Linked DNA regions of Homo sapiens: region 1 is linked to region 2. The links are contacts of gene promoters, found by promoter capture Hi-C in human tissues and cell types (Jung and others, 2019). All regions are on one chromosome and are shown on one strand. The core of a region is centred on a gene start or on the middle of the fragment in contact, and the rest is flanking DNA. Distances in the headings are between cores, read along the strand shown. Region 1 overlaps PITPNA (phosphatidylinositol transfer protein alpha). Region 2 holds the start of PRPF8 (pre-mRNA processing factor 8).

Evidence for each region. Contacts are between HindIII fragments. The study calls those that stand out against the background at their distance.
Region 1: a contact is called between a fragment that was not itself captured here and the fragment with the promoter of PRPF8 in region 2, in 1 of the 25 tissues and cell types used here (dorsolateral prefrontal cortex).

What each region holds. Positions count from the first base shown.
Region 1 is chr17:1,553,911-1,557,476 of GRCh38, forward strand. All of the region lies in intron 2 of PITPNA (phosphatidylinositol transfer protein alpha), which reads right to left. Among named protein-coding and RNA genes, the nearest start is that of PITPNA, 7.1 kb to the right of the region's middle. RefSeq lists an enhancer at 1,906-1,975 and a silencer at 2,392-2,592. The HindIII fragment of the contact is 8,751 bases long and covers 1-3,566 here.
Region 2 is chr17:1,683,282-1,686,863 of GRCh38, forward strand. PRPF8 (pre-mRNA processing factor 8) reads right to left here and starts at 1,586. Exons shown (of 43, transcript NM_006445.4): 1 at 1,499-1,586; 2 at 1,191-1,301; 3 at 252-420. The coding sequence starts at 1,290. The HindIII fragment of the contact is 7,907 bases long and covers 1-2,810 here.

The DNA of each region.
Region 1 (3,566 bases), core at 1,058-3,557, 130 kb before region 2:
CACATGAGATATTACAGATTCCTGCCCCACAGTCTGTGCCGGCTGGGTGCACCCTCTGTGTTGGCACTTACTACATGGCAAAAACCTAGTTTTCCTTTATTTGGGTCACATGCCACCCTATCAAGTCACCAGTCAACATGATTGGCCTCCTCTGACCCTGTCAGGATGGGCCAATGACCTAGGCAGTGCCCAGACTTAGCCCTTCCGCCTTCTTCTCTGAGAAGCTGTCCAGAGGAGAAAACAAGGTGAAAAGAAAATGAACAGCAACATTTGAGGCAGGAAATTATGTCTACACCAACGGATGTGTCTTTCCTACCGCTGCCGGTGCTAATCAGGCATGGCTGCTTAGGGAGTATGAGAAAAAGGAAAAAAGCTATGGGATTACCCAACATGCTGGGGGGTGGAGGGGGACAAAGGGTTTCCTCGAGCTCTATGCCCAACTCCTGGCACCCCCGGGGGGAAGACAAGGGTGTTTCTCTATTTTTTTTTTTTTTTTTTTTTTTTTTTAGACAGAGATCGCACAGTGGTGCGATCTCAGGTCACTGCAACCTCCGCCTCCTGGGTTCAAGTGATTCTCCTGCCTCCTGCCTCCTGCCTCAGCCTCCGAAGTAGCTGGGATTACAGGGACTGGGTTTTTCTCTCTTTGAGATTAAAACAGAAAGGATGTATCTCTAGGCAACTGCTACTTAAATCACTGCCTCCAACAGCAAGGACAGAGGCAGCTTCCAGAGCTGCTTCGCCTCAAACTTAGAAACCTGCTCTACCAGGCAGCTTCCTAAGCACTGCAGGGAAATTTCTGGGCAAAATCTGGAAAGTGAAGCAGAGGACGAGGACAATTCACTGCTCACCACAAGGCTGAAAGAGCCCTAACTTTCAAAGCAAAATCCCAGAACAAAATGCCATGAAAAGGGGCAGCAATCGAGGCTCAGTGAAATCCATACAGAGGAACATATGGGTGAAAGCCAGTCACCTTGACCTTGCTAATCCTAAGCTGCATCAGTGCTGCCTCAATGCCCCCCTGGAGCCCCAAGCTGTCCCTGTGCCTCTCCAAGTCCACCACCCAGCTAGGCACACATGAAAACCCGTCAGGTGGGTCAGGGCTTGGCTGAGCCAGGGGTGCCTAAGAAGGAGCAGTAACTCCGTTTCAGAGAAGAGCCGTAAGAACATCTAACCACTGACTCAGCAATCCTAAAGGACAGGCTGGGGAGAGGGCCTGGTGGAGGGGGCGAGGTTCCCAGCTAGTGGTACCACTTGGGAAGGGGGACCCCAGGCAGAGACTAATCGCCTTCATTTGGTTTCTCTTCAGCTGCAGGAATCAGAGGGCAGGTTCTAAGAGGATCAGCCTGTTGGCTGGCATCTTCCCCCTTCAATCTCTCTTGATATTCTGATCCTTTAATCCCAATGAGACAAGTGAAGGCAGTTTTGTTAATCTAAAGGGGTAAGCAAGACTGGCCTGCACAAGCTACAAGTGAAGGGCGCTTTTCACGTTAGAGTTCCTTTTGGCACAGCTGCTCTGCCCCCTGGGAAAGCAGCCAGACTCGGATGGGGCAGAGATAGGAGTGGGAGGGTCAGATCATTAAATCAGATTTAAAAAACTCCAACAGGACTGGGAATCTAGCCTCCTCAGACCTGCGATGATGTTCCTTGCTCTTGAGATCTGTTCACCTATCCCAGAGAACTAAGACATTCAACTAAGAAAAACAGACTCCACAACTTTGGCAATCTGGGAGGGGGAGCCCAGTGGGTGGGCCTGAAATACTGACATGAAACACGTCATAAACAACAGTACAGCTTTGGTCCCACCAACATGGCCCTGTCAGGCTGGGTACCAGAGGGGGACTGGTGCCGTGAATCTCTGGAAACAAGAAGTGAAGCAGCCCGGCCGACCTGTGCCAGGAAGCACTGGTGGACACACCCCGTCAAACAGCCAGGGCTTTCTCGCTCTGCTGCACAACGCCCAGACACTCAGGGTTAGACCAAAGGCTCTGGCCACCCAGAAGCTAATTCTGCCCCCAAAATATTGATGCAGGCCATCGGAATGATTACAAAGGCATGACCTTCTCTTTCCCTTTCTTCACTTTCCCCTAAATCAGAAAACTGCAAAGGCCTCAAGTCATGGCCTCCAATTTAGGAAGTGAATCCACCAGTCACAAGATGCTGAGCTGTTCCCATAGAAACTGTTAAGTCAGGATGGGGATGGGGTTACTGACAAAGACTCTGAGAAGGTTGATCATGAATTGTTTCTTCTTCGGCCTTCCCCTCCAAGATTTTTCTAATTCTCTGAAACTAAGTTCCGCTTCGACCCTACCCAGGCCACGTGGTACTTTCTTGTCAATGGTTTCTTGCTGAGAACGGGCTGACCACTGCCAGGCAGACAGGTGAATCCTGATCAGCACTCACTTCCCAAGCTTCTGCTTAGACTTCAGGCTCTGATTACTCAACTCCGCCCCACCACTTCCTCAATGCTGCAGAAAAACCATCACAAGTGAACACCCGCCAACTGTGGATGCTCTCAAGGTGGAAGTTCCCCTTTCCTTCCAGTCTTGGCCCCACCATAAGCCATCAGTGTCTGGCCCTTCAGCCTTACTCCAAGAACAGCCCCAGGTGCTCCAGGACAGGCTGGCCCTCCTTGGTCTGCAGCACTTCTCAGAGACACTCTCGCCCTTCGTTCCATCAAGAAACTCCCTATCAAAGGATCCATTTCACCCCTAATCACCACACTAAGGAAATCCCGAGTTCCTGGGGCACATCTTCCTAACGATCGGGGTGGGATCATCCTGTACAGCAGAGAGGACGTCACTGGACACCTCCCCAAGAGCTGAGTTTGAGGGCAAGGGACGCGCTGGGCTTTCCTGCTTGGCCTTCTGGTTTGGAAAATCATCGCTTGCTATTTTCAATAAAGACAGCACAGGCTGGGTGAAGTGGTTGACATCTGTAATCCCAGCACTCTGGGAGGCTGAGGCAGGAGGACTACTTGAGGCAAGACCAGCGTGGACAACAGAGTGAGACCCTATCTCCACTATTTAAAATAAATATTATAAAATAAAAAAAATAAAGACAGCATGGCCAAAGCAGGTGGGTTAACAAGACCCTTCCAAGCCAACACCTGTCAGCCCAGGCACCTGGTTCTCAGGCCCCAGGTACATCCCCAGTGCCTACAGGGATTAGAGCCATCTACCCAGCCATTCCCTCATTCTCCCTGGTTCCCAGGTTCCCCAGTCTCGTTTCTCTTTTCTGCCCTTCCCAGAACCCCAAGATCACGGTCAAGGCCCACCTCTGGCCCCCTCCCCAGGTCCCCACAGCTCTTATCAGATATGTAGCCCACCCCTGGAGGCAGTCCTCTAAAGGGCCAGTGTCTGCCCACCCCTCTCGGGGGCCAACAAGCCTGGATGTCTGTCTCAACTAAATGTGCTGCAGGCTCTGCTGGCCTGATTTCATTTTTCAAAGGTGCAGTTCATATTGGGAACAGAGTGGAAGTTATCACAGGAGCTTCATGCTGACACTGCAGGAAAGAGAGACGGAGCCCAGTGACTGGAGGCACTATACTGGCTGACGAACCTCACCCA
Region 2 (3,582 bases), core at 336-2,835:
ACCGCGCCTGGCCAGGGACATCTTATAATATCATCAACAGGACAAATTAAAGCACCAGTCCCAGATCGGGAAGAGAGGGGAAACAGACTGCAAAAGTGGAAGATGTAGAAATTATCAGAGACTCCTACTGGTTTTCTCCTTTCTCTTATATCCACCAAGATGAGCTGTCAAAGCATCAATCCAAGACTGTGGGACAGGGAGAAGGGAAAAGGGCCAAATTCCAAATGAAATTATTTCAGGATGTTCCTTACCCCAAGTAAACCCTTTTGTCATGGCGGAACTTCCTGTTGGTCATGTCTCCATGGTCTCGAATGATCTTCCTGACATGTTCTGGGGGCATGTCTTCCTTCTGGGCATCCACAAACCCAAACTTCCGCTTTTCTGCATAGCGCTTGGCCTGCAATTGCTGCCATTTTCGAGCTGGAAAGGCACCTCAGTTTAAAGGCCTGCACACCCTCCCCCTAATCCTCTTCACCTCTTGCCCTAGGGTAAGCTCCTGTCAGTGAGTGTGAGGGAGAAGCAGGCACCAGCAGGAAGAAGCACCCCTTGCCAATTCCCTTACCATTTTACTCTGTTTTTCCTTTCATCACATTGATCACTATCTGACTTTTTTTTTTTTTTTTGAGAGGTTGTTTCACTCTGTCTCCCAGGCTGGAGTGCAATGGTGCGATGTCGGCTCACTGCAACCTCCGCCTCCTGGGTTCAAGCCATTCTCCTGCCTCAGCCTCCCCAGTAGCTGGGATTATAGACACGCGCCACCACACACGACTCATTTTTGTATTTTTCGTAGAGACGAGGTTTCACTGTGTTGGCCAGGCTGGTCTCGAACTCCTGACCTCAGGTGATCCGCCCGCCTGGGCCTCCCAAAGTGCTGGGATTACAACCGTGAGCCACCGCGCCCGGCCTGACATTTTTATTACAGAGCTTCAAGGTTTTGTTATTCTCTGTCTCTCCCGCTGTAATTTAAACCCCGTAAGGACAGGAATTTTGTCTCCGTCACTACTGTACCCCCGCTGGATCAGCGCTTGCAAATAATACGCGCTTAAAATGACTTGATGAAAAATTAACTGGAAATAACAAGGGAGCTGACACCTCAGGAGCTGCCCAAACGGGGAGGGTCCCCACCCGCCTGCGCGCGCGCACACCCGCCCCGCCTCCGGCCCGCGCGCCGCTCCACACTCTCGCCTCACCTTTCTCCTGCAGCTTCTCCTCCGACATGTAGTCCGGTAGCGGGGCTAGAGGGCCAGGCACCGGGTTACCCGGCCCTCGATAAGGAAACACTCCGGCCATATCCGGAGAATCTGGGGAGCGGCGGGATAGAAAAATTCACTAACCACAGGCCCGGGCCCACAAGAAGCGCAGCAGAAAGGCGTCCGGGGACCCCGGCCTGCAGTCCCGCCACACAGTGCATCCAGCCCCGCCCGGCCTAACCCCTTCGGTCACTCGGCCCGACCCGACCACGCCTCCCGCAGCCCGGCCTTAAACGCCTGCCACGCACCCCACAGGCCCTCACACAAGAGGCCGCTTTCCCCGCAGCGCAATGGCGGCCAGACTGCGTCCGCTCCGCGTTCCCAGCGCCGGGAAGTGCGCAACCCGAGTTCAGCAGTTGATCCAGTCGGCGCCGAGGTGCTCAGATGGATTAGTGAGACGACCAATTAGAGTTGCACACTGCGCCGAGGAGGCGGGCCCATAGGCGGAAAGGCTTTGAACGCAAGGGGGTGTGGTCGGGGTGAAGCCCCGCCTCCTCCATTTCCGAGGCTGTTTCTGGGGCCTCTGACAGACCTCAGCGTGTGATGGGCTCCCGGCGTCGCACTGTGAGAGAGCGAAGTCTAAAGGGTTTGAATAAATTTGCCAAGATTGCGCATTGTACGATGTCTGTTGTCATCAATGTGTACATGCAATGCAGTACTAGCTCCTGGACAGTCATTTGTTCATGCATTCATTCATTTAACCATCACTGTCTACCGAGGACGAGGGATAAAGCAGGAAAAAAGACAACCAGTAGAGTTCACAGGGGAGCAGAAAGGCAGGCAAGAATTAAGACCTTGGCCGGGCGCGGTGGCTCACGCCTGGAATCGCAGCACTTTGGGAGGCCGAGGCAGGCGGATCACTTAAAGCCAGAAGTTCGAGGCCAGCCTGGCCAACATGGTGAAACCCCGTCTCTACTAAAAATACAAACATTAGCCGGGCGTGGTGGCGGGCGCCTGTAGTCCCAGCTACTCGGGAGGCTGAGGCAGGAGAATCGCTTGACCCGGGAGGGGGAGGTTGCAGTGAGCCAAGATCGCGCCACTGCACTCCAGCCTGGGTGACAGAGCGAGACTCTGTCTCGGGGGAAAAAAAAAAGTCTGAAATTCTGTGGAGGGTGCAGAGGAATTGTAACCCATACAGCCCCTGAATCTAGTTGAGAATTTACAAATCAAAGTGAAATAATTAGAAAAAAATTCAAAGGATGTCAATGTGCTTTCAGAACGGTAAAAATTTAAAAAATATTCCTTTTGTTTTTTTGAGACAGGGTCTCACTCTGTTGCCCAGACTGGAGTGCAATGGCGCGATCTCAATTCATCACAACCTCCACCTCCCAGGATCAAGCAATTCTCCTGCCTCAGTCTCCAGAGTAGCTGGATTACAGGCACGCGCCACTACTGCCGGCTAAGTTTTGGATTTTTAGTAGAGACAGGGTTTCACTATGTTGGCCAGGCTGGTCTCAAACTCCTGACCTTACGAAATCCTCCTGCCTCGGCCCTCCCAAAGTGCTGGGATTACAGGCGTGAGCCCCCATGCCCGGCCTGAAATCTATTTTTTAATGCTGGGTGTTCTAAAGGTCCCTACAGTCAAAAAAGACAGAGGAGAATTGTTAAAGATTTGATGGAGATGGATGGATGTGAGGATTTCATAAAGGTAAATGGAGAGGAAGGAAAAAGGTAATCCCAAGTGGTAGAACTACTAGAAAGAGTTAAGAAAGAAGCCGGGCACCGTGACTCATACCTGTAATCCTAGCACGTTGGGAGGCAGCGGCGAGAGGATTGGTTAAACTCATGAGTTTAAGACTAGCCTGGGCAACATACTGAGACCCTCATCTCTACAAATAATAAAAATATTAACCAGGCATAGTGGTACATGCCTGTAGTCCCAGCTACTCGGGAGGCTGAGGTGGGAGGATCATGATGGCACCACTGCACTCCAGCCTGGGTGACAGAGCGAGGCTGGTTTCATAGAAAAAAAGTGGGGGTTTTGGTTTGTTTTTTGTTTTTTGAGGCAGAGTCTCACTCTGTTGCCAGGCTGGAGTGCAGTGTCACAATCTCGGCTCACTGCAACCTCTGCCTCCAGGATTCAAGCGATTCTCCTGCCTCAGCCTCCTGAGTAGCTGGGGTTACAGGCATGTGCCACCACACCCGGCTAATTTTGTATTTTTCGTAGAGATGGCGTTTCTCCATGTTTGTCAGGCTGGTCTCGAACTACTGAGCTCAAGTAATCTGCCTACCTCAGCCTCGCAAATTGCTGGGATTTCAGGCGTGAGCCACCGTGCCAGGCCAAAAAAGGTTTAGATATAGAAACTAACATGGCATGCTCTGAAAATAGGCA